Regions from separate parts of the Homo sapiens genome. Here regions 1, 2 and 4 are each linked to region 3. Evidence: promoter capture Hi-C in human tissues and cell types (Jung and others, 2019). All regions are on one chromosome and are shown on one strand. Each heading gives the region's core, a stretch centred on a gene start or on the middle of the fragment in contact. The rest is flanking DNA. Distances are from core to core; before and after follow the strand shown.

What was found. The method cuts DNA at HindIII sites, captures the fragments that hold promoters and counts their contacts. A contact is called where the count stands out against the background at its distance.
Region 1: a fragment that was not itself captured here is called in contact with the fragment with the promoter of ZMAT4 in region 3 in 3 of the 25 tissues and cell types used here (dorsolateral prefrontal cortex, hippocampus and thymus).
Region 2: a contact is called between a fragment that was not itself captured here and the fragment with the promoter of ZMAT4 in region 3, in 1 of the 25 tissues and cell types used here (hippocampus).
Region 4: a contact is called between a fragment that was not itself captured here and the fragment with the promoter of ZMAT4 in region 3, in 4 of the 25 tissues and cell types used here (bladder, dorsolateral prefrontal cortex, mesendoderm cells and 1 more).

Annotation. Positions count from the first base shown.
Region 1 is chr8:40,861,367-40,868,203 of GRCh38, forward strand. The region is part of intron 1 of ZMAT4 (zinc finger matrin-type 4); the gene reads right to left. Among named protein-coding and RNA genes, the nearest start is that of ZMAT4, 33 kb to the right of the region's middle. The HindIII fragment of the contact is 5,134 bases long and covers 1-4,098 here.
Region 2 is chr8:40,941,515-40,948,335 of GRCh38, forward strand. No RefSeq gene overlaps it. Among named protein-coding and RNA genes, the nearest start is that of ZMAT4, 47 kb to the left of the region's middle. The HindIII fragment of the contact is 3,187 bases long and covers 3,620-6,806 here.
Region 3 is chr8:40,893,320-40,900,159 of GRCh38, forward strand. It overlaps ZMAT4 (zinc finger matrin-type 4), which reads right to left and starts at 4,507. Exons shown (of 7, transcript NM_024645.3): 1 at 4,364-4,507. The HindIII fragment of the contact is 9,161 bases long and covers 890-6,840 here.
Region 4 is chr8:40,835,721-40,842,278 of GRCh38, forward strand. All of the region lies in intron 1 of ZMAT4 (zinc finger matrin-type 4), which reads right to left. Among named protein-coding and RNA genes, the nearest start is that of ZMAT4, 59 kb to the right of the region's middle. The HindIII fragment of the contact is 9,455 bases long and covers 1-6,558 here.

The DNA of each region.
Region 1 (6,837 bases), core at 282-2,781, 35 kb before region 3:
CCATATGTAGAAAGCTGAAACTGGATCCCTTCCTTACACCTTATACAAAAATTAATTCAAGATGGATTAAAGACTTAAATGTTAGACCTAAAACCATAAAAACCCTAGAAGAAAACCTAGGCAGTACCATTCAGGACATAGGCATGGGCAAGGACTTCGTGTCTAAAACACCAAAAGCAATGGCAACAAAAGCCAAAATTGACAAATGGCATCCAATTAAAGAGCTTCTGCACAGCAAAAGAAACTACCATCAGAGTGAACAGGCAGCCTACAGAATGGGAGAAAGTTTTTGCAATCTACTCATCTGACAAAGAGCTAATATCCAGAATCTACAAAGGACTCAAACAAATTTACAAGAAAAAAACAAACAACCCCATCAACAAGTGGGCAAAGGATATGAACAGACACTTCTCAGAAGAAGACATTTATGCAGCCAAAAAGCACATGAAAAAATGCTCATCATCACTGGCCATCAGAGAAATGCAAATCAAAACCACAATGAGATACCATCTCACACCAGTTAGAATGGCAATCATTAAAAAGTCAGGAAACAACAGGTGCTGGAGAGGATGTGGAGAAATAGGAACACTTTTATACTGTTGGTGGGACTGTAAACTAGTTCAACCATTGTGGAAGACAGTCTGGCAATTCCTCCAGGATCTAGAACTAGAAATACCGTAAGACCCAGCCATCCCATTACTGGGTATATACCCAAAGGATTATAAATCATGCTGCTATAAAGACACACGCACACGTATGTTTATTGCGGCACTATACACAATAGCAAAGACTTGGAACCAACCCAAATGTCCATCAATGATAGACTGGATTAAGAAAATTTGGCACATATACACCATGGAATACTATGCAGCCATAAAAAAGGATGAGTTCATGTCCTTTGTAGGGACATGGATGAAGCTGGAAACCATCATTCTCAGCAAATTATCGCAAGGACAAAAAACCAAACACCGCATATTCTCACTCATAGGTGGGAACTGAACAATGAGATCACTTGGACACAGGAAGGGGAATATCACACTCTGGGGACTGTGGTGGGGTCGGGGGAGGGGGGAGGGATAGCATTGGGAGATATACCTAATGCTAGACGACACGTTAGTGGGTGCAGCACACCAGCATGGCACATGTATACATATGTAACTAACCTGCACAATGTGCACATGTACCCTAAAACTTAGAGTATAATAAAAAAAAAAAATTAAAAAAAAAAAAAAAAGAAAATTTGGCACATATACACCATGGAATACTATGCAGCCATAAAAAAGGATGAGTTCATGTCCTTTGTAGGGACATGGATGAAGCTGGAAACCATCATTCTCAGCAAATTATTGCAAGGACAAAAAACCAAACACCGCATGTTCTCACTCATAGGTGGGAATTGAACAATGAGAACACTTGGACACAGGAAGGGGAACATCACACACTGGGGCCTGTCATGCGGTGGGGGGAGGGGGAGGGCTAGCATTAGGAGATATACCTAATGTAAATGATGAGTTAATGGGTGCAGCACACTGTCATGGCACATGTATACATATGTAACAAACCTGCACATTGTGCACATGTACCCTAGAACTTAAAATATAATTTAAAAAAAAAAGAAAGAAAGAAAGAAAGAACAGCCTGTGCAAAGGACTAATGGTTGGAAGCAGGTGATGCAGCCAGTGCAAAGAAAAATCCATTCTGGTGAAGCAGAGGTCATCTGAGGGTGAGGAGAGTGGCAAGACCGGAGGCTGGAATAGCAAGCAGTGAGCAAGCCACGCAGCACCATGGAAGCCTTGTTGAAAGGGTCTGGGTGTGATCCCAAGGATGGCGCGGACCTCAGAAGAGCTTTAAGTAGGGGAGTGAGGTGATCTGATTTGTATTACTGTTGCTACAATGTGGAAAATGCTCAGAAAGGAGAAAAAAAAAACTGGTAAAAGCATGTAGATTAAACCATGTGAAGGATTATGGAGGGCTGTTCCAGAAATGGAGGAGAATTTGGAGAAGTGGAGGTACAAAGGAAATCAGTATGAAGTGGAATCTGCATGTCTTAGGCATCCTTTGATGAGGTAGCTAAAGGGAGAAGGAGAATCAAGAACTACCCTCTGGCACGTGGTGTGAACGGTGGTGCCTTTCACTGGGGCAGAGAAGAACACAAGAGGAGGTGGAAGTGGAGGCTGTGAGAAGAGCTGTAGATGATGGGTTCAGTTCACAACCAGCTAAGTTGAAAGTTCCTATGCAGCTTCCAGTAGAAATGTCCAGTACTAATTGCTTGGACCACAGCAAAGCAGCTCATAGCAAGATCTAGACAAGGGGTAGAGAGTTTTAAAAATCCATATGAGGACAGTCATTGATGAGGGGAATACACAAAATTACCCTCAAAATTAATTAGAATAGTTAACTTTCATGAGATACCAATTATGGAAGACCTTGTGAAAATCATTATGTCAGAAACCAAAGTAAAGCCATCTATCACCACTACTCATGCTCTACTATTCATATTTTACACACACAAGTTTATTACAACACTTACCTATATCAAAATAATTATCACACATTATTTCAATTAGATCATAAAGTCCTAGAAAATGGGAATGTACTTTTGTCCATATTTATCTCTGTATCTCCTGTGCCTCACATGGTGTCCAACATAGGGAAGGTACTCAGTCACCATGTGCACTGCATGGAATCTGATTCCCGGATTAAATAACTTTCTTAATTCTTTTCCCAATTAATGAATGCACCTGACCTGTGCTTGGATGGACGTAAACCAGAGGTGGGTGTTCCCGGGTTCAGGAAATCTGGCCCATTTCATCTTGGAGCAGAAAGAAAGGCATTTGCCAATCTGCCTGAGCCACGAAAATCAGCAGGAAATGACCTCGCCTGGGATTCCTCTTTCCTTGAGAGTTTCCTGTTCTCCTCTTACTATGCTGGATGTACACCCTCAGATCTGATATTAATATGTCACTAGAACTTTGCATAAATGAAAGCATTTTTATTTTAAAAGCAGTTGGAGAGAAGTTGAGAAAAGTGGGTCTCTAATGCTGGGGTGTCACGCAAGATGGTCTGAGGATGACAGGTGACCAGGATGGCACACCTCAGGTCCTCCCTATGTAGGTGGGAAAAGATGATTCTGGCAGCTAATGCAATGTGGTAGCAGGGACAAAAAAGTGAGGCATCACACATACCCTGTGTGGCCTGGGTACTCACCCCAGTTGTGGCAGTGATGAGCTGGTGATGACATCATGACCCCAGGTCATAAAGGTGCCACAGTGTCTCCATTTTAAATTCTTTGTCTCAGTGATGACAGTTGGGTTGTGACCTACCCCAGTGACTGGTATTTTTATGCACTGTGATGGTATAACTTTAAGTTCAGCAAAAACATAGAGAGAGCCTCTAGCATGTGAGGAGATGGCTGTAAAAAGTCTAGCAAATTATATTTCCCAAAACCTGAACTATATGTCATAACATTTCAAAAATTGAAAATGTACTGAAGCTGATTTGGATATAAAATTCCAATATTTATGAGGTACGAAGTTCCTAAAAATATAAAATTCAGAAAGCTTTTATTGAAATGCTTACTGAAATTCTTCCTCTATTTAGGAAGTCAGCTTTTTAAATAAAAGGGTGACATTGCACACAGCCCAGAATTTTACTCAATGAATTCTGTGCAAGGTCAAGCAAAAATGTGAAATTAAATCTTACTGGCAAATTTTGATGCAAGATTCCCTTTAAACGTACGCTTTTTGCACGGACATATCTCAGCAAAAGTGAGGGCTGAAAGAATCAACCTTTTGCTGCATTCACACATTCTCAACGGCTTGTAGCAAGAGTGACAAATGCCACTTATTCTCTCGCTTCGGAGTATCACACAATGTTTTGCCTTACAAAGTCCAAGACAAAAAGGAAGACATGAAAGCAAAATACAAGGTGCAAATACAAGCCACGACTGATATCCCTCTGAAAATGTCACCTTCCAGAAAAAAGAAATCTTCCCCGAATTCGGCCTGCATCACCACTGCAGCCTGTGCTAGGCCGTGCAGATCTGGGCCATGGAGAGGAGTTGGAAATGACCAATGGCAGAGGGATCTTCCAGGCAGGATGTGGCTTCAGCCTCTGGGAAACCCTATGAGTGAGCCCAGGCCTCTCTGCTCCAGAACCCTCAGAGGATGGACAATGACCATCAACATCCATCTGCCATCTGTGCCATGCTGCACAGCCAGCTGGGGGATTGAAATACACGGTCTGCTCTCCCCAGCAACCGTGGTGGGAGGGATTATGCCTTTTATATTCTACTGGCACTCAGAAGAAAACTGGAATTTAGAATGTTGGTTACCTGCAATCACACAGCCTCAGTTTCTAAAGCTGGGACTCGAACCCGGACTTTTAGACTCCGTCTTCTGCTGTTTTCACTGTACTACGCAGAATGTGGAGAAGTTTGGGCCCTAAGGGACATTCTTTCTTCCCCCCGCCATTTGCTAAACAGCAATCTGATCGTCCCAACCAATTTTTAGATTTTAGAAGGCCAAACCAACTAACTTTCCAGCTGCTCAAAAGAAAAGAGAGCTACGATGCAAGCGACTGGATTCGACAAAGCCTCGGCCCCAGGAGTGCCCTCTGTGTGCCAAGTGCCAAACAAGCTTAGTGCTTCTGAATGTCTCCTGGCTGAAAGCAGGGATCAACAATTCTGTTTAACAGCCTTCCTAGAACAAGGCATTCCGAAAATACACTATCACCAACCCTGACCTTCAAGGGCCCCTAGAAAGAAAGTGATTCCTTAAAGTTCTTTCACTTGAATTTGTATCTATCACTAAACCAGGGATGATGGCTGCAGCTGCACTCCTTTGCTTTAGTTCTATATCTTGTCTTTCTGGTTTTAAGAATTGGTGGGCACAAGAGGACTTAGGGCTATGGGCACAAGGGTTCTGCACACAATGCTGGTGCCCCAGGGCTGGCACTGGGACGCCCCAAATGCCACATTGTGAGCAGAAACATTTCCGCTAATAGCTGGTGAATGTGCGTTCTGAGCCCACTGGCACCCCAGGCACGTTTCCAACAAACAATGTGGCACACATAGGAATTCATCCAAACCAAGCAAAAATCACTTAGCTTAATAACGCTGCCCTGATTTAATTTTAACTTTTCATAAAGCATGAAAGATGAGTGGGGTGTGCTTGGTGTTTTATAGATTACTGATGAGACTGGGCTCACATCTGGCTGTTTTATCTTTTTTTCCCCCTAAGTTCCTAAAAGAAGAGGGTTAGGAAAGGAAGTTGATGAATAATTAAGAGGAGGGCAACACCTGCAAAATGTGCAACCAAATGCAAGAGGGAGTTTTTGCTTCTCTCTGGTGTGTAAATAGCTGGCAAGCACCCGGGGAGTCCTCGAGTAAGAAATTCAGTGCTGTGTATGTGGATATCCAACAGGATACACATATAAACATGCATACACACACATGCATATGCATGCATGCATGCAACATGTGAACATATTTATACACATACATATGGCATACAAATCCCCCTAATCTACATTTAGACAGCACTCGGAGGGCACAGTGAGCTCAATGGCTAGCCACAGAATGACTAAGATCTGCAAGAGCTAGACTGGTATAGATGCTCTAACTAAGTCATCCTTAACTCTTCTCTTTCTTCTTCTCTAACTTCAAAATGTATCCATCTCTTTTCACCATCTCTACAGCCTCCACCATTGGAAGGCAACATCGCCTCTAGCCGATGTTATTGCAATGGATTTCCCCCTAGACCTTCTGCACCTGCATCTTACCCCTTAGGCAGGGGTGTGCAATCTTTTGGCTTTCTTGGGCCACATTGGAAGAATTGTCTTGGGGCACACAAAAAATACACTAACACTAATGGTAGCTGATGAGCTAAAAGAAATATATATATATCATAATATTCTAAGAAAGTTTAAGCATTTGTGTTGGGCCACATTCTAAGCCATCTGGGCCACGTGCAGCTGGTGGGTTGCAGGTTGGACAAGCTTGCCGTAGCGTCTGTTTTCAAAGTGATCCTGGTGAACATAAGTCAGATTATGATTCCTTTGCTCAGGCCTCCCCAGTGGCTTCTCAGTTTTCTCAGAGTAAAAGCCAAAATCCTTGGAGTAGCTGCAGGGTCCTGCATGATCTGCACCCTCCACCCTCTGCCTCTTCGTCCAAACCATTAACTCTCTGTCCTCATTCCTCCACTCCAGCCATACCAGCCTCCTTGCTGCCTCTCACATACAGCAGCACAGTCTGCCTTGAGGCCACTGGATTTGGCATTTCCTGTCCCTGGAAGTCTCCTTCTCAGATGTTCACACAGCTCAATCTCTTTCACTTCCTTTGAGTCTTTGTTCAGTTGCCACCTAACCACCATCTGTAGGATTCCATTCCTCTTCTGCAAACCTTTCCCCAGACTTCCCAATCCCTCTTCTTACTCTGTTATTTTCCCACTCTGCATTTATTATCTTATAAAATACTATAGAATGCAGTAAACCACCATGGCACACATTTGCTTATGTAACAAACCTGCATGGCCTGCACATGTATCCCAGAACCTAAAATAAAATATAAAAAAAAAAAATTAAAGGATTTGCCTAATTATTTTTCTGGTTGTCTCCACTTAGCAGACTGTAAGTTCCATGATGGCAAGGATTTCTGTCCTTAACTGTACCCCAGAGGCAAGAATATATTAGCACAAATATATTAACAAATACATTATGGACATATATATGATATATAAATAACACATATCCATAATATATTTGTTGAGTGCAGAATGAACAAATGTTTTGCTCTGGTTTGCAAGTGTATTTACATGGAAAAAAAGCCATTTAGGTTTC
Region 2 (6,821 bases), core at 3,963-6,462, 49 kb after region 3:
CGCAATCTCCGCTCACTGCAACCTCCACCTCCCAGGTTCATTCTCCTGATTCTCCTGCCTCAGCCTCCTGAGTAGCTGGGATTACAGGTGCCTGCCACCATACCCAGCTAATTTTTTGTATTTTTAGTAGAGACGGGGTTTCACCATGTTGGTCAGGCTGGTCTCAAACTCTTGACCTCAGGTGATCCACCCGCCTCAGCCTCCCAAAGTGCTGGGATTACAGGCATGGGCCACCATGCCTGCCTCCCCCCACAACCATTATGGCTTTAACTAGTTTTTTAGGTTTCTTTGGGATCCCATTGGCCAACAGGGGGGTCCATTCAGTCTGTCAGAGGCCTTAGAATTTTATTTTTGGTCTACACATGTATTGTGGGAACTCCCTGACATGCCTCAGCCTGCTCTGTTTGGGTCCCTTGTTCTTTTTTTCTTTTTCTTTTTCTTTTTTTTATGGAGTTTCTCATGACCCAGGCTGGAGTGCAGTGGTGCAATCTCAGCTCACTGCAGCATCCACCTCCCGGGTTCAAGTGATTCTCCTGCCTCAGCCTCTCAAGTAGCTGGGATTACAAGATTACAGGTTCCCGTACCACGCCCAGCTAATTTTCATATTTTCAGTGGAGACGGGGTTTCACCATGTTGGCCAGGCTGGTCTCAAACTCCTGACCTCAGGGGATCCGCCCGCCTCAGCTCCCAAAGTGCTGGGAGGGTCCCTTGTTCTTTATCAGTCATTCAAGTCTTCTGCCATTTTGTGACATGGTGATGGTGTCTTACAGCCCATTAGACTGTAGTTTATCTCTCATGAGTTACTCTGTGCATCAGAGGCCTCTGACAGCCTTCTATAGAGCACCCTTGACTCTGCAGTAAGGGCCAAGGGACCCTCTAGTCTTCTCAGCAACATAGAGACAAATTATTCCTCAGAGTGGATATTCTTCTCAGGTGGCTGTCCTCCTCTGCCTCTGGCAGGATTTAATTTGCTTCCATTGCAGAGGGTGGCACTTCCTTGCCTCTATCCTCAGGGTGAAGTCGACCTGGGCTTCCATACGCCCCACTGACTGCAGGGGTGCTGGAGCGAAGACAGGCCTTGGGTGAACTAAATGTGGCAATCTGGCTTCTGGGGCCAGTCAAGGAAGGTCCTGTGAGTCTGTACCTCACAGAGCCAGAAATAAGAAATGGCAGAGGATATGTCCACATCACTAATGTCCAGAGTTCCAGAAAGGGCCCACAATCAAACAGAACCAGCTTCAAATCCCAGCTCTACACTTAACAACTGTGTCACTCGGCATGCAACTTATTCCAAGCCTCAGTCTTCTTCTGCTTAAAGCAGGGAAAAAGATTGTGCTTACCTCCCAGGGTTGTTATACAGACTAGCAGATGAAGTCTGTTTGGCAGCCAGTGGCAGCCAGCCTGACCTGTTAATGAAGCTCGATTGATGTTAGCCATCACGAATGTAAACCAAGGACGCATGCTTGGGCAATATCAGAAAACTTGCAGCTGGTGAGAGGAGCAACAGTCTATACCCCTAAGCAGGCAAACAGACCTGGATCAATTGCCAGCAAGCTGATCTCTTTGTTTCTGAGGTGATGGCCTTGTTTCCTTCCTGTCCCTCCCTCATTCTTGCAATTGACTGTGCTGTGTGATTAGGCAGTACCCACAGCAGTCAGAGAGCCCAAAGAACTCTCCGATGCTCCATGTAGCTTTCCAATTGATAACTTCTGCACTGGTGACCTGCCCTGGGGCCAGTGAGACCCAAGCTCTTGGCCACCTGAGGCACAGAGAGGAAAGATACTCGGTTCAACTGTGATTGGTGGTGTTTGAAATGCTTGTCCCCCAGTGCCATAAAGAAATAGCACTTGAACGTAAATTTAATTTACTCAGCAAGGCTATTTTTATACTTTCTGCAGAAAGGGTACACTTGCCAGCAGTTTTGCCACGAGAGTACACTGAACAAAGGAGTCAGGGTCATTTATATCCTTGATGCATCCACCCTATTGCTGTGTCCAGTTTTCATTGGCTGGAACGGGACCTTACATTTTGTATTTGTCCTGATTGGCTAGCAACTTAGAACTTTTTAAAAGAGGCAAAGGTAGAAGAGAACAAAGGAAGGAGGAAGTAACTTGTGGAATGCTGAGAAAGGTAAAAACACCTTTAAATAAGGAAGAGGAACAGACTATGACCTACTGCTTGCTTGGACCAGTATAAGTATGCTAGGGCAAATATTTAGGCTAAACTGTGGGAGCTAAGAACATAAAGTACATTGATTTCTTTATCAAGGCTAGCAGATATTTAAGAATGTTAGCACAGGTCTTTGAATAAATTTTGCTTCTAAGAGAAGTTACTATTTATTCCTAATTAAATGGGGAGGAAAGTCTTTGAAGAGGAACTTTTACTTTATTTTTTACAATGGTAAAATGCACGATGGAAGCTTGGGCTTGTAAACTTCCAGAGACAGCGGAAACAGGGATGCACTGGTGAAAGCTCCAACCAGCTTGTGTAAGTTTATTTAAGAATTATGCTAGCCATTTAACATCCTGTTTGTAGCTTGAAATTGGCCAGGGGGAGATTGTTGACACCACAGAAATCAGCAAACTTTACAAATCAAGGTCCTCCGCTTCCATCCCTGTAAAACATTTATCAACACACCCCTAGGCGGGCCCTTTCTCACATCCCTCGCCTGCCTCACTTACTCTTAACTATTGCCCTCACACTACCTACCCCACCCCCAGACAGCCCAGCAAAATCTTAAGCAGTTCAGAAATAAACTGCCAGAGACAGCCAATGAGAAACAGCTTGAGCTGCAGCGAGAGTGCCCTTGAGAGCGGATGCTGAGACTCCAGAGCCTGGTCTCTCCTTCTCTCTGCTCCTCAGAAGGGAGTTAGTCGGCAGATATTCAGGTACAAGAACTCTTTGCTGCCTGTTAGAGTTGAAAGATCTCCGTGCCAGTTCTCTGAGGGGCAGGTGGATGAAAGAGGAAAACCCCATAGGGTCACAGGGAATTCTCAATGTCAACCCAAAGCACAGAAGTGCCCATAGAGGGGGCTCATGAGGACAAGCCTGTGAGGCACACAGAAAAGAAAAATAATTGTCAGCAAGGACCAGTGAGTTTAGCAGAGGCCAAGTCTGTCTTTCCCCTTGCAGGAGCTGAGGGGAAGCCAGGAAAGCGGCGGCCTCAAGGCTGAGAGGGGATGCACTCCCCACCCCCACCACATGGACAGCTTCAACCTGCGACCTCAGGGCTCCCCAGAGCAGCAGCAACCCTAACCCCTGAGAGGAGCCCCACCCTCCACCGGGGACATGCACCTCTGTCTCCTTCCTCTGTCCCCAGAAAGGAGCTCTTCCCACTGCAAGTGAAGGGGAAGCCGCTCCCTGAACACCATCCTTGTGTGTATCTAGCGCTTTTGCTCCTATAGTATTTAAGATCCGCATCAACTTTTTTATCCATCTCATCCCTCACTTCTCAGGCAAGTTTGGAGACCTTACCCTTTACGTTCTCCTTCTCCTTCGGGTGGTTGGAGACCGCGGTAAAGCATCGGGTACCTCCTGTACCTCAAGGGTTTTGCTGCTCCCTGCTCAAAAGCCAGAGTCTGCCATATGGCCTGCCAGCTCCTCTGTCACACTTTCTGAGCTGTTCAGAGTCTAATCACACCTTTAATATCCAGCCTTACGTCCAGCAGCTTCTCCTTCACCTGAGCTTTCTGCTCACTGTTCTGCAAACACAAGGCTTCTCCCTCCCACCCTGCTGGGCTCCTGCTGTTTCTGCAACCTGGATGACTCTTTCCTTCCTTTAATGCATCAAGAAATGCCTCTTCATCCAAACTCAGGCCAGATTCTCTATCTTCCAGGCAGCCATGTGTCCCCTAATCTAACCCCCACATCTTCTCCCTTCTGTCTCTATTCTACTTTGACCAGTAACTTATGACTTAGGTCTTAGCTCTTCTTTAAATGTTCTCCCCAGCTGAATGGCAAGCTCCCTAAAGACAGACTCTGCATCTGAATACTGTTCTCTGTGTTCTCCACAGTGCTTAGCATAACACTGGTATCCATTAGGTGCTTAATAAATACCTTGCTTGGTTGGAATTATTAGGGGCTTCTGTCTATAATATTGAGTCTTTTTCTTACTGGGTCCTATCTCAGCTATAGTAATAGTGTTTGCAAGACATTCTTATCACTGAGTAATACATGGATACATTAATTGTATTCATAACAATAATTGCTCCAATTTATTGAACAGCTATTCTGTGCTCAAAACAGCAAAGCATTTTACAAGCATTATCTAATTTACCTCTAAGGTCAGAACTATCATAATCCCCATTTCACACATGAGGAAACTGAGAAACAAAGAGGATGTGACTTCTCCAAGCAAACAGGCCAGAGCTCAAGGTCTTCAACGTTGCGTTATTCTGCTGTTGCCAGGAGCCCTGCACACATTCTGTGGAGAACAGTCTAAAGTGCAGTGAATAGCATTAGCCACCAACTGTTCATGCAAATCAGCATGGCAAAATAGGCGAATTTCCAGCTAACTAGGTGAAATGAGCATAAGCATTTATACCTACTCTCCCGAAATAGTAGTAATATCATAAGAAAGTAATAAAAGAGGAGTAAATCTACAAAGACAATGAGAAGAGAATAATTTATAGCAGCAGAGAGACAGCAGCAAGATTCCAGAAGTCAAATGGCGGGCGAAAGAGCGGTGCACCCCCACACAGGCCAGGGAGGCTGGGCAGCTCGCCGCTCACTGCAGGACCCTGGGAGGCCCAGAATGAAAGCATTGAGTTCCGAGGGAAAGTGGGGCAAGAGAAGAGACTAAAAAGAGACCTGTCTGAAAGCTTTCATACAGAGTAGTCAGGCTCCTAAATCCCCTCCCCATACGCTGCACAGCCAAGGAATGGCCCTTCCTTGGCCCTGCAGGGTGAACCTCAGAAAAGGGCCCCTGAGGCCCACAGGCAGACATGGGCCAGCTGCCAGGCTGAAGAGAGGGGCTGAATGATCTCTGTCTACAGAACAAAGACACCTTCATCCTCCTTCACTCCTCACCATCCTCTTCCAGCCCCAGTCCCCAAATGCCAGTGGCCAGACAGGAGATGGGAAAATATTCAAGAAACAGAATTCTATGCTAACAAACAGAAAGTCCTGAGTATATGTACAGATACAGTTGAGTGTCTCTCAAGGGAAAAGTCAGTTTTCAGCCCCACCACCCTACCGTGAAGTCCAGAATCAGTGCCCTGTTGCAATCAGAGAGCCTCACATCAACCCTTGAGTCCTTAATAATTTCAAAATGTAAACAGACAGCAAAGTATCAACAGATTTTTTTAAGGAAAGAATCTAATATGAAGATCAAAACAAATTATTTTTTAAATCAGGAAGCAGAGATTATACGAAGAACAGACAAGAAGCTCCAAAGACTATCAATATCTTTAGAGAGATACAAAAAAGAAATGACACCATGAAATGAGAACAGAGGGCCCCAATAGCAAAATGGGAGCAATTAGAGAATAAGAAACTCTATTAAAAAATGAAATAATAAAATTATGAACATCAAACATTGTTTAATCAATAAAAGAGTTCATAAAGTCAAGGAACTATTCCAGAAAATACTTTAAAAATGGAAGAAGTAGAAGGGGAGGAGGAAGAGGAGGAACAAACAGATGAGCTATGGAGAGGCAAGGAGGAAAATTCAATGAGCAATTCAGGGAGACCAAGAGTTAACTAATAGAAGTCCCATAGAGAAGAGAAAAAAATGAATAAGATGATACTAACAAAGAAATAATATGGAAAAATTCCTATCTGGGCAGATTAAAAGGGCCTATTTAATAACCAATGCAATGAATTTTAAAAGGTTCACAGCAAAGAACCTTAACATGAAACTTTACAACATGTGGATAAAAATAATAATCAAAATAAAGTAGGAAAGAGAGGAAGGAAGGAAAGAAGGAAGGAAGGGAGGAAGGAAGGAAGGTAGGTTACATGCAATGAACTAGGGATATGAATGACATTGGATTTCTCAAGAATTTCATCAGATGTTAGAAGGCTGTGGGACAATTTCTTTAAAGTTCTGAGGGGAAAAATAACTTTTAGTTCAGAATTAAATACTTAAACTGTCAACCAAATTTGAAGGTAGATTTGCTTCTATCTCTCATGCACTATTTTCTAGAAGCTACCAGAAGATGAGTTGCAGCAATAAACACGTGCATACATACCAATAAACAGATAGATGGGGGGAGTGAGCCAAGAAAGAAGAAGACTGGATGCAGGAAATGAGTGACACATCAGAGAAACGGGAGAGAAGTCCCAGAAGGACAGCCATGTCCCATGTGCCATAACTAGAGAAGGGACAGAAAAACAGAAAGCTTCAGGGGGAAGATATCCAGGAAAAAAAGGAGAACTCATAATAATAACTTTTAGAAACCCTAGTGGTTCTGCTTCTCTGATAAAATTCTTACCTATGCTAAACTAAGCACATGAAAAGCATGTCTAGCTCCAGGAAAAACAAAACAAAAGTTTATACAAGAAAAAAATTTGTACATTGGATGGGTTAGCAGTCAACAATATTTTCATAAGCCAAATAATTGAATAATCAACTATTAACTTATCCAAAGCATGTGCTATAACTGTACTGAGAAGATTGAAAGGGAAGTATATGCCTGCAGGTGGGAAGAATAAGAATGCTGAATCCTTATCCAAGTTTATTCCCACCTCTGGGCCTTTGCACTAGCAGGTGCCTCTGCCTAGAACTCCCTTCCCCAGAGAGGACGAGGCCCACTCACTCATCTCATTCAAGTCCCTGTTTAAATGTCTCTTCTTTTGTCCAATGTATCAGCAATAATGAT
Region 3 (6,840 bases), core at 3,257-5,756:
GTGGCAAAATCAAGAGAGAAGGTTGGAGCGGAAAGGAGCCTGTGAGAACGTAGTCCTGACCTCTGGCTCTATATCTAAGGGGACTAAAAGTCAGAAAAGGCACATAAGCACATGCCCAAGTTCAAATCTGAGGGATCTAGCTCAAGTGCCAGAGCCCAGATAGTAAGATCACAAAGCCCTGGGACACTGCAGCATGTTTTCAGCATGGGTCAGAGCAGGACCAGCCAGAGCTAAAAAGCGAAGGCCGCCGTTTCCCACTCTGCTCCCCATCCAAACTCAGTCTGCCTCTGCCCAATCCCACTAGCAGGTGCCTGGAATTTGACTGTGCACATCTTTTGTTTTCTTTCCAACTTTTTAATTTTACGTCCGGGGGTACATGTGCAGGTTTGTTATAATGGATAAATTACACGTGGCAGGGGTTTGGTGTACAGATAGATTATTTCATCACCCAGGTAGTAAGCATAGTACCTGATAGGCAGGTTTTTGATTCTTACCCTCGTCCCACCCTCCACCCTCAGGTAGGCCCCTATTGTTCCCCTCTTCATGTCCATGTGTACTCAATGCTTAGCTCCCACTTATAAGTGAGAACATACACACATCTTTGATTTCCTTTAAGAATGTAAATACCTCTGTAAGTAGCAACACTATTAACTGTTCACACCTTAGTATGAATGAGTAGATTTGATCCTTTCCAACTATTAACAGATTTAGGGGTGAGAACAAAGAGCAAAGAAACTGAGAGCACAGCAGGCAAATTTCCCTGCATGCTAATGTTTCCAAGGTCAGCTCTGCGCATGGGGCTGCAGCAGGCGCAGGCCTCAGGACAGTGGCACAGTGAGGGCTTGCGGCTGGTGGGACTCTCCAGGTGTCAGACAGGACTGTGCTTCGAAGCATCTGCCCTGTCTGCCTCATGCAGGTCAGCTGCACCACTCCAGGTGCTCTGGTGAGGTCTGCATAGAACTGAACTTGGGGACAGGATTACCTCATTGCTCCCCTAGGGTAGGCTCCTATCACATTCCACAATTCCTGATGTCCCCTGGTTAACTGTTTCAGGAGTGAGGTGCACAAAACATCTACAATTAGATCTCCACCCTGGGGCCCCCTGAAATGACAGGAAGGAAGAAACAAAAAGTAACCAGGAAAGAGAGGTAACCCTACATGTAGGGTGAATGGAGGAAGGGAGGAAGGGGCACGAGCATGGGAAGGAGAGTGAGTAGGATGAATGATTTAGTCATAATTTGGGCTATGAAATTTTCCTAAATGAAAGATGAAGAGGGAAAATAGCAGAGTGTGGTGAATACATTTCAGGGTCTAGGTTTCAAAACAGCCTTCACCCCACCTTGAATACATGGAAATAGCGTGCTCCAACCTCTTCAACTTTCTGAGGTGTTCCAGAGTGTTTCAAATCTCCAGACACACCTTCCCCTAGGACAGGAAGGGAATTCACACATCCACAGAAAAAAAAAACAAGACATTGTAAAAGCGTTTACCAAAACAGCGAACACAATAGGCGTGCTTATTAGATTTCCCCAAAAGCACAAAATTAAATTTTAAAGCAGAAGGCAAAAAGGCTCTTCTCTGATAAAAATTTTAATATGTTTTCAGTCTTATTTCAGGGGACAATTTTCTTTAACAGAAAAATCAGCACAAAATGACAAGATCAAAGTAGGTTGGCAAAAGATTACTTACTGATATGTTTATGATGAAAAGGGATAACAGAAGGATGACAGGGATGGAGGGACAGAGGGGTAAGGAGAGGACTTTTATTTGCCAGGTAACTCACGCAGGGCTTGGAAAAGCAGAAAGACACAACCCCTTCCCACCATAGTGGTTAAAAGAGAGAGAGATCCAGTTTGGCCAATTGGGAAGAGGAGAAAACGCTGGGTCTGTGGATAGTGCTTATCCAGGGTCCTGGCCAAAGCCATCATGTTTGATGAAATGACAAGTAACACATTTAATTTCCTAGGCATTCATCGGTCCTTGCATACACAAACAGGCACGCAGCTTCACAAGGAGTTAATTAGCCTAACACCAGCAATTAGATTCTCCAAACTGGATCGCAGCAGAGGCGCTGGGTCCTGGGTTTCACACCTCACCCCATCCAAGGTGAAGCTGTAATGAGGGTGTTTTGCACTTTGTCAATTATTTTTCAGCTCCTAGGATCCTTTTTTGGTCTAAAGTTGTTATTTTAATGATCTCTGTTCCGAATGGGGAAATACAAGAAAGAGGATTGAGGAGGAGGCAGAGGGAAGGAAAGCGAGCGCTCCAGCGTGTCCCACTTGTACTTTCCAAGGCCCCCTCCGCCCCCTCCCCCCACACTGCCTCTTCCCTCTGTGCATGACTCACCCTTCAGGAGCTGTTTCAAATGCCTTACTTTTAATGTTTCCTATCACGATAGAAATCCAACAGATTGGCATCAATTAAAGGGAACCCCCAGTTTTGCAATCCTCAAACTCAAAAGCATTTTCTGGTTTCCTTACTGCCTTCATGAAAACCAAGGTGCTCTCATGCAAGATCCCCCACGTGCTGGGGGCTGCCCCTCCTGGGCTCCCTGGGGGTCACGTGCCCTGGAGAGGCCACAGAGGACGACGTCCATGACTAACCATGCCCACCGGCTGGGAAAAGTTCAGCTTCCGCTCCAGGCCCCCCAAACACAAAAAGATTATAATTGGCAGGGCTGCAAAATTGTTTTGTTTACTGTCAGATAGGAAGTACAGAAGAGAACGCTGATGGTATTTTGACACCCCCCCCAAAAAAAAAGTGGGCAGGCATTTTTTTAACCATTGTGAATAGAGTTTCAATAATCACAGTTCCCACCCAAAATAGCTGCCTACAGGAGGTGGAGGAGAATCTGTTGTGGTGGTTAAAGAAAATAAGAATTAAAAAGTGGAAGGGATTTGTGGAGCTGGAGAATCAAGACTGTCATCTGCATCTCCGTGGAAGGGTGCCCTGAGGAAGAGGTGTCACTGGAGAATCCCTCCCAGAACATGCAGTCTTGTCAGGACTGGGAATCGAACTCCCCAGCTGCGGGTTTAACGGAAATCAGAGGGATGAAAATCATCTAAACTCTTCAATGCCCCTAGGACTTGGAAGATCACCCCCAGACTATCAGCTTCAGAGTATCCCGCAGGTAGGCAGCGCAACTGGTGAAGTGCGGTGGGCACACAAGCAGAAGCTGCCTTCGCAGAAGAGGAAGAAAGTTCGAGACCAAGCACATCGCCTGCTTCCCCATGGGTCCCTGCTTCCTAGTGACTCACCTACCTAATATCTCCCTTTAGCAGAAGCCAAAGGCGGAGGAGGCAGGGGGAGAAAGGAGTTTCCCAAGGGTCTCAGAGCAAGAGAGGCCCCTGAGGTCTCGCGATTTAGAATGCTCAAGGGTGCTTCTGGGCTGAACCAGCTGCCTGCCGGGGTGAGCTGTTTTACTTCAAGAGCAGTTAGCAGAAGCAGTGTGGATGGTGACTTCAGCACCACCTCTGCCACAAATGCACCTGTGCACCAAAACAACCTGCGCACCTACACGGAGCCACCCCCTCCACCAGCCTCCACCTCCCAGAGCTGCGGGGATGCTCCGGGCCAGGCACCCCTTCTGGGGACAAGGGTGTAAGCTTCACATGGTACCAAACCGAACTCTCTATCCCGTTTTTTGGCTTTTTCTTTTTTTTTTTTTTTCAGGATACCCCAAGCCTGGAAAGTCTTCCAGAGTTTTCGGGAGCTAATTAATTATGTGATTTCCTCTCCTCTGAGAACTGTTTTGCTGGCGTGTCACCAAGTTGTCACGTAGGTGCCCACCAGGTCAAACAGAATAGACCATCCTCACCCACCCACCCCGGGGAATGTCTCCTTCCACCAAATAAAATGAACTGAGACAGGCAGGAAGGAGGCAGAAGTTTGAGGAAGGACTCCAGTTGAAGGTCACAATAGTTTGGGGAAGGCAGATCAAGGTAATACGAAGGGGACAGACCCTATAGCGGAAAACACAAACAACCAATCACGTTTCTCTCGGAACCAGCCTATCCATGATGGGTGCACCAGGAAACAGCACACCCTGGGATCCAACTTCTTTCACCCAGCACACCCGAATCTCCACCCCAGCCCTGCAGACACCCTAGCCTGAGACCAGACCTATTTAGACAGACCTGAGCGCAGCTAATTAGGAGTAGTAAACAAGCCCATTTCTTGCCAGCGCAGAAGTTTCCCAAATTGTCCGCTTGTTTTCCTCCCAACAAAAGACAGTGATTTCCCACCTTTATCACATTCCCTCCCAGAAACTTTTCTTTCTGCAATCCCTCCACCTAGGCTAAACTGCAAAGCCACTGGCAATGGAGACGCAGGCGCTGCACCCCCGGGACGCAGGCAGAGGTACCTTTTCCGCGAGGCAGAGGGGCCGCCGGTGCCCAGAGGCCAGCTGCCCTGCCGAGCAGTAGAGCGAAGCTGTGGGCTGGAGCACGCTGAGGATTACACGTTCCTGTCTCTGCGACCAGACCTTTCGGCAGCTCGGACCAACTGTGCTAGCGATGCACTTAGCAATTATCTGCTGGCTCCGACGCCCCGCCCTCTGCTCTTGCGATTGGCTCTCCAGTCCCGGGCAGGACTGCATTGGTTTCAGCCGACCTCACTCATTGCTTTGGCTCCTACTATTATCTAAGCCATCAAAGGAAATAATTCCATGTTTCATTGACAACCTGTAAGGCTCTCCTCCAGCCCAATGTGGGGGCAGGACCGGGAGGCCAGTGGAGAGAGGGGAGAGGAGTAGGAAAATGTGGGGGAGCGGGGTGGGGGAAGGAGGTGGAGGGGAGAGGAAAAGAAGGAGAAACTGTGGGGGGGTAGGAGGGTAGGAGGGAGAGAGAGAGAGAGATGGAGCTATCAAGCAATCAGATTCTTGCTCTAGCATTTTAACTTCCACAAAACAGAGCCCATAGCAACAATTTTCTGGCTTTATTTTCCCCCTAACTGGTAAATGTTGCTGAGGGCAGAGAGAATAATAACTATGGGGTGTCTGCCGGCATGAGACAGACTCTAGAAAGCCGAGCAAGGTTGAGGGCTGAAGGGATGGAGTAATGCTTTTCACAGGGCCACCCTGGAGGACATGTGAAGGACATGGCAGATTGCTTGGGGAGCATAGTAGGTGCATACCTGGAGTTTATCTATCAGTACTTTATCTCACAGTCCCCCTCATCCCCCAACCTGAGGAGACAATTTTCCTTTGCACCCTGTCCAAAGAGTCTCAGAAGAGCTATTCTTAAAATCCATAAAACTCTGGAGTTTCTCACTGTTCTCACTGGGAGGTCCAGAAAGCCGAGCATTCTAGAGTGAATGATTCTGCTGGGACCCTCACTTTGGTTTATTCTGACATGGCTTAAATTAATCGCTTAGACTTTCATCAACAACCTACGCACGTGAAGAGAGAACATACCCATCAAAGGGTGGGGACAGCTTAAACACTTTTCCTTGTTCACCAAGAAATCATAAAGTCTCACCCTAGTTAAAATGGCTTTTATCCAAAAGACAGGCAATAACAAATGCTGGCAAGGATGTGAAGAAAAGAGAATGAACCCTCCTACATTGCTGGTGAGAATGTGAATTAATGCAGCCACTATGGAGAACAGTATTGGGGTTTGTCAGAAAACTAAATATAGAGCTACCATCTGATCCAGCAATCCCACTGCTAGGTATATACCCCCAAAAAAGAAATCAGTATCTTGAAGAGATTCCTGCACTGCCATGTTTATTGCAGCTCTGTTCACAATAGACAAGATCTGGAAGCAATGTAAGTGTCCATCAACAGATAAATTAGATGAAGAAAATGTGGTACATATGCGTAGTGGAGTACTATTCAGCCATAAAAAGGAATGAGATCCTGTCATTTACAACACCATGGATGGAACTGGAGGACATTCTGTTAAATGAAATAAAACAGGCATGGAAAGACAAACTTCACATGTTTTCATTCATTTGTGAGAGCTAAAAATTAAAACAATTGAACTCATGGACAGAGAGAATAGAATGATGGTTACCAGAGGCTAGGAAGGGGCGGGGGTGGAATGGTTACTAGGTACAAAAATAGAGTTAGATAGAATGAATAGGATCTGGTATTTGACAGCACAACAGGGTTATTACAGTCAGCAAAACATATTGTACATTTTAAAATAACTGAAAGAGTACAATTGGATTGTTTGTAACAAAAGGAAATGCTAAATGCTTGAGGTGCCAGATACCCCATTTACCCTAATGTGATTATTACACATTGCATGCCTGTATCAAAATATCTCGTGTACCCCATAAATATATACACCCACTATGTTCCCATAAAATTAAAAATTTTTAAAAATTAAGAAGAAATCATAAAGCACAAATTTTGACCTTCCCCTCTCCTTAATGTATTTGTCACCATATGGAAAAGACATCACTTGGCAGCTAAATTTTCTTAACTAGGTAAAATATTTATTATTAATGTTTCTAAAATGAAAGAGCTTTTATAAATCAATAAGTACAAGACCTATAACCCAATTCAAAAATGGCAAAGGACAAAATGGGCTGAATTTTTTAAGAGAGAATTATAAAAGCGTCTTTTAAAGAAAGCTTTTAAAATATCAAATTTCAGATGATCCAGAAACTAACCCTTCAGCCTTCTTATCCTAGGATCTCCATGTCTTTGGTGAGGCTCTGGTCCCAGTCCTGCCCTGGCCTCCCCTGGGGCCTTGAATGGCTGTAGTCCTTATCTTCAGCTGCGTCCTCTGCAGCAAATGGCAGGTGCCCCACTGCCTTGTATGGTGACTTTCTATTTCATGCATACATGCCTGGCTTCCCTAAATACATTTCAAGCCCTGTAAAGACAGAGAT
Region 4 (6,558 bases), core at 3,147-5,646, 58 kb before region 3:
AAGGCACCGACGAGACAGACCAAGCTGCTGCAGGGAAAACTATTATTTTTATTTGAATCCATACTCTGAGGTTGCTGCAAGTGCTGTCAGTCAGCCAGCAGACATTCTAGTTCCCTTCTCCTCTACCGCATATTAACTTGACTGGGCTTCTCCAAGGAATTCTAACTGCTCGGTGCTGATTTGTCTCCTGACCTTCCTAAACTCAGTGAAAATGTAGAGTCCATGTAAAAGTATGTAGAGTGGCCAAGACAGGAAGATACAGGAATTTAAATGTTGCAAAGGCAGAGGAAGGGACTCACTATCCAGTTTCTCCCTACAAATCTCTACACAGCAGCCTCCCCCGTCCATGAAATCTTTCCGTTAGAACTTCCTTTCAGATTTCAGAGCTGGTTTGACATCTTGTGACACCCCCTACTTTGGGATGCAGTAAGAAATCGGGAAAATAATGATTGGTTTGGGAATTCAGCCACCATGGGAAATTAACCATAGAAAGGTTATTGTATGTGTATTAGGATCATCAACAAACAATGGGGAGATTGTTGAAACTTAAAATATCTGGCCACATCAAGAGTTGAAGAAGGTGTGAAAATGTATACAGGAATTTGTATACATTTTCACAGGAGGATAAGCTGAAAGTTAAGCATCATCTCATCAAGCTGAACAACCCAGCAACTGCACTCCTAATTTCAGGCAAGAAAAAATCTTGCTCACGTACAACACAAGGTATGTAAGAGATGATGATAGTAGCATTGTTCAAATAGCAAAGCCTGTAATCAGCCCAAAAGCACACCTACAGGAGAGTGGATGAATAAACTGAGGTACAGTCACAGCAACAAACCAGAATACAGACGAATCATAGCAATCTAATATTTACATGAAGAATTTGAATCAGAAGATCACATCTACAAGATCCTTTTTATAAAGTCAAAAACAACTGAAATGAAAATATAGACATCTTGGGCATACATGTAGAAAAGATACAACTCTAAAAATGTTTGGCAGAGAAATGAGGACAAGATTCAGGATGATGATTGCCTTAGGTTGGGGAGACAGAAGGGATGAGAGAGAAACACATGGACAGATGTAAGCGGTTGCCAGATCTCAGCTTTGCTTTAGAAGATGTTGTACGGGTGCTCATTCTGTTATTAACGACGGTAACTGATGTTAGTGATAGTGAGATGATGATGATCGGTAGATAAATAGATAGAAACATAGGTAGATAGAAACTAGATAGATGATGGATTGATTGACAGAAATATAGATACATACATAGACAAATAATGGCTGGATAGATACCATGTACACAATAATGATGAGAGACGATTTTCTAGAAATGAATCTTCCACACCCTCTGCAATAGAGACATTGTTTTTTTCCTTTCTCCTGGCCACAAAAGATCAGACTGAATTTCTCAGCCTCCTTTGCAGTTACTGCACCACATAATTGAGTTCTGGCTGATGAAATGTGCACAAAAATGATGGACACAGTTCCAGGCCTGGCCCTTAAAAACCTGCTGTTTGATCTAACCTCCTCTCCTTCTGCAGGCTGGACGTTGCAGTCCTGCTCAACTTTGGAAGCCACATGGTAAAGAAGGCAGGGTCTCTGAAAGTCTTGGTTCCTGGATGACTGTGTGGAGCAGAACTCCCTTTCCCCAACCCCTGGTGCCCACTGGACTTTTGTGTCAATGGGAACTAAACCTCTAAGGCACTAAGCCACTATGATTCCAGGATTTATCCAGCATGACCTTAACTAACTCTACTTGAACCTGAGTCACTTGGCATGGCTGGGGAAAAAGAATACACAAAGTGCACTTTTTACCCAGTGAAACCTCTTATGTGCTTTGTAGGGGAGCATTGGAAAAAGCCAGAGATATTCAAGGGTCTGAGAGTCCAGAGACCAAACCTAATCTCTTGTCTCTCCAGCTCAGCTCTCTGGGTCATGGCACTAAACAGTGCAGACCTCACTGAGAATGCTCATTCAGGTCAGTACCGCTCGATTTCTCATTTGAACAGAGTGTGGCTTCTGGGGGCTAAAATCAAGCAACTCGTGGGAAAGCAGAGTATCATCGCAGGACAAGGCGTGTGTCCTGGTACACGGGCTGGGAGCATCTTTACAGATGAGCCAACCAGGAGGATGTTCTCAGGTACCAGTGGCACCTGCCAAGAAGTCTGCTCTGTTTCTCTCTGGTTTGGAACAGACCCATGCTCCTCACCCCTGGCACATTGGTGTTGGTGCCTTGCAGAATCTGCTTTGCCATCTTGTGAGGGGCAAACGGAGCAGATGGCCCTGACCACTGGGATGCCAGGTAATGATCAAGTGCCACACATCGAAGTCGCAGGGTCTTGTCACCTCGCCAGAGATGACAGACAGCTGGGCCATCTGGCAACAGCCCTGATGCTGGGGAGGAGGCACACATCTCATCACTCCACCGCTTAATGTAGTTACACTGTCAAATTCTTCCCTCAAATCCGTTCTTCACGCCTTTTAGCTGAGGTGAGCAGCAGTTGGCCAGTTTCCAGGAAATGAGACTGCATTGATATAGATTCATTCCCTGGCTGGGAAGTTCCTGGCTCTGGGGAAAGCACGGAAGCATCACTGTGAGCTGGTGATGCCCCTCTTTTGTTTATTTTTTTATTTCCTGAGACAGGGTCTTGCTCTCTTACCCAGCCTGGAGTGCAGTGGCATGATCATGGCTCACTGTAGCCTCAACCTCCTGGGCTCAAGCAAACCTCCTGCCTCAGCTTCCAGAGTAGCTGGGACTACAAGTGTGTGCCACCATGCCCAGCTAACTTTTTGATTTTTTTAAGATGGGGTCTCACTATATTGCCCAGGCTGGGGGTGATACCCTTCTAATGCACTCCTCACTCTCCTCGTCAGCTCTGCTTAAGCCTGGCAGTGAACTATTGGTGTCTTCAACCATCCTGCCCACCTACCATGGCCAGACTGACTCTCAGTCAATGCCACCAGCCCTGCCCCTCCTAACACCCTCTCACGCTTGCCAGGTGGGGGAAAGAAGACCAGCATCAGGGAAGAGCTGGAAGGAAACAAAAGACATGAACAGTTAGGTGGACAGTGAAGGAAGGATTTGGAAGGTGAAGAGGCCAAAATAAAGGGGCGGGACATGAAGGCAATTGGAACTGAGTGGCTTAGAGAGAATGAGGTCACATTAATGATGGAGATAAGAATGAAAACATCACAGCACCAGAAAGGGCCATAAGGACCATCTAATCTCACCCTTTCACATTCCCAAATAATATGGAAAAGACACCCTGGAAAGTGATGAAACTTATCCAAATGTACCCTGTACATAAAAGGCAAAATGGAGATCTCTAACTCCTGAAATAATGTTCTTTCCCTGCAGCTCACTGCCTCTTCCAGAATATTTACTACCTTCCTTTGAAGAATCACCTTGGGCAGGCAGAAACCAAAAACACCTTTTTAAGCTTTGGAGAAACAAGCCCTCTGTGACTCTGACCAGCAGAAGCAATGGTGCAGAGATGCCTAAAAAGACCACCTTCCAGGTCAGATCCCCAGAGGCTGGCGAGACGAAAGCAAGGGCCAGCGACAGGCAGCTGTGCTCAGGTGTGCCTTGCCTCTTCTGCCACCCTCCAGAAACTTACAAGTAAGCATTTTGTCTAGAATGGCAAAGCCCAGAGGTTTGTGAGACGTGAAGATGTTAAGGTCAAATTGGAAAGTACATTTAAGTACAGATTCCACCTCAAACTGAGTGCTAGCTACAATCCCACCACCAGGTATCTACCCAAAGGAAAAGAAATCAATATACCAAAAAGATACCTGCACTTGTATGTTTATTACAGCACTAGTCATGACAGTGAATCGACCTAAATGTCCATCAATGAATGAATTGGTAAAGAAAATGTGGTTTACCATAGAATACTATGCAGTCATAAAAAGAATGAAATCACACCTTTTGCAGCAACATGAATGGATTGGAGGTCGATATCTTAAGTGAAACATGCCAGGCACAGAAAGTCAAAAGCCAGGCGTGTTCTCACTCATAAGTAGGTGCTAAAAAATGTATAACACATGGACATAGAGTGTGGAGTGAAAGACAATGAAGTCTTGGAAGAGTGAGGGGGTGGATGATGAGAAATTAGTTAATGAATGATGGCTAACCTAAAAGCTCTGATGTTACCACTATGCATTCTATGCATGTAACAAAACTGTGCATGTACCCCATACATTTGTATGAATTTTAAAAGGCAATTCCTGTTATAAGCAGTAATTCCTATTTCCCACCAAACAAAACTAAGTGGTGATCCTCCCAAGTCAGTGGGCTGTGAGATGCCTACTGATGGAGTGGCCTGGACTCACATTAAAATAAGTACTTGGAAATCTTGTGGTGGACAAGGGAGATGCATGGCTGAGGTGCCCTTTCAAGGAAGAAATGCTTGCCTCTATTTGCTGAGAATACAGTTGGCACTCAGCCTTCAGCAGCCTGTCCCTTCAGGAACGGCTTGCTTCAGAGAGCCATGCCCCCAAAATCACACTCCTCCGGGGCACCCATGGCTACTAACTGACAGCTGCAAAGGTGAAAAAGCCCAGTCAGTGCAACACAACATGGACCAACCCTGATGGGCCTTTTCAGCTCCACGACTCCCCATGCAGTTGGCTGAGGCTACTATACCTGCACCAAAGCCCAGTTTCTCCCTCTTTCCAATCCTGCTTCTGCTCCTCCCTCCACAGATATCCCTCCCAAGAGCCACCCGGTAGGCACCCTGAGCACTAAACTCTGCAAAGTCTCTTCCCTGGCAAACCCTGACTGTGGCATTTCTTCTCACTCACCTCCCCATGAAGCAGAGCTCACACAGCCCTACTGTGGACCTCACCTCATTAGACATTGGCAACCTGCTACCTCCGTTAGTCAGAGAGCAGATCCATTCCCAAAGATTCAGAACTCCTCCAGGAGTCCAGAAACGTATTGTCTGAGTAGCATTTATGCAGTACTAGGCAAGGCATTGTTTCTGGTGATGCTGTATTCTGAGATAGGTTCAATACTGCTTAATCATATGCAAAAGAGAGAAATAAGCTAGTGCCGAATTCTGGTTCCCATTCTTTTGATCTCAGTCCCCAATGTAGTTACAGTTACTATAGTACCATCTGACTTGAACCGATGATTCTAAGTTCCATAATGTCAAAGAAGTCATATTTCAATAACACTTCCTACCCACTGCTAAAAATATTGTTTCTTCCCACACAGCCATTCCTAATGAGATATTACAAGCCACCTGGCACCCGGGGGAGTTCTTCGGCTAATTTTCTGTGGAGCCCCACATAATGGAAACTGTGTACAATAGAACCCTGTTGGATGCTGGCGTCAGGGGCAAAAAGAAGAGCAACATCACAGGCTACTTAGTCCTATAGGAACAACGGTCCTTGGCAACGTCATTCGATCTGCAGCATGACTCCAGGGTGAAACGTAGTAGAGTCTAAAGTGTTTTGCGGTGAACTCTCCAAATGAGGAGCTGGCCCCAGTGGCGGTTGCACTCTCCCCAGGACCTCAGCCTACCCCTCAGTTTCTGATAAGAGCCAGTTTGAAACCTGAGTAACTGCTAACTCCTACTGGATGTAAATGCATCTGGGACCAGGCAAGGCCTCCAGCTCAGCTGCACGACCAACCAATCCCAGCCACTCCAGAGGCCGCCCCCCTGCCACCAACAAATGTGCCTGCTCCCTGTCCCTTCCACGTCTTGTTAAATGCTAGACTGTGTTCTCTCCTCTGCATCTGTCATGTGCTAAGCATTGCCTCTCTGAGACATCCCCCTACTCCTCTTACCCAAGCTGGGTCAGTGCCCCCTCCCCAGGCTCCCAGGCTCCCTGTGCACCCCCATAGGTGTGCACGCCCGACAGGTGTCGTACACCCCTGCAATGCTGTGCTTGGCTGCCTGCTCTTCCTCTAGACTGTGAGCCCTTAGAGGCAAAAAGTATCTCTCTTCTCTGTACTCAGCACCCAGCACCATTCTAAGCACTTTAGCCCGATAATAATAAACTGATAAAATAACAAGATAAAATGCACTGGGAATGGAGTAATAAAAGTAAAATGCACTAGTGTAATCTATTGCTTCCCAGTAGAACTCCCTGTTTCTATTTTGGGTCTTACCCTGAACATTGTTAAGAAGAGTCCAGAGGGTGGTCCTAAAGAGATCACCTGCAGGATGCGCTTCTGCACTCTCCTGGGGCAGAACAGTCTCCAGGAAGAGCCTGGCAGCACGTGCCCACAGGTGTAGACATTCCAGTGTCTAGAGCCAAGGGAGGAGCTCCACTTTCTGATTAGAAAATGATGCCTCTGTGATCAGAAACAGGTCTGGGTAGAAAGTATTAGGTCTTCCCTCCCCCAAGCCCCACAAGGCCCTCCTATAGGTGAGGCACCTGAACCTGTAGGTGATGCTAAGAAAAAGAAGCAAGTGTGGCTCCTGGGGGCAGCAATGGTGGTCCCCCAAGGGACTAAGCAAGTGCATCAACTGTCCCTCTGCCCACCAAGTGCACCTCTGTTCTGAGCTATACCCTCCCATGGCCTCATCCACTATTCAGACCACA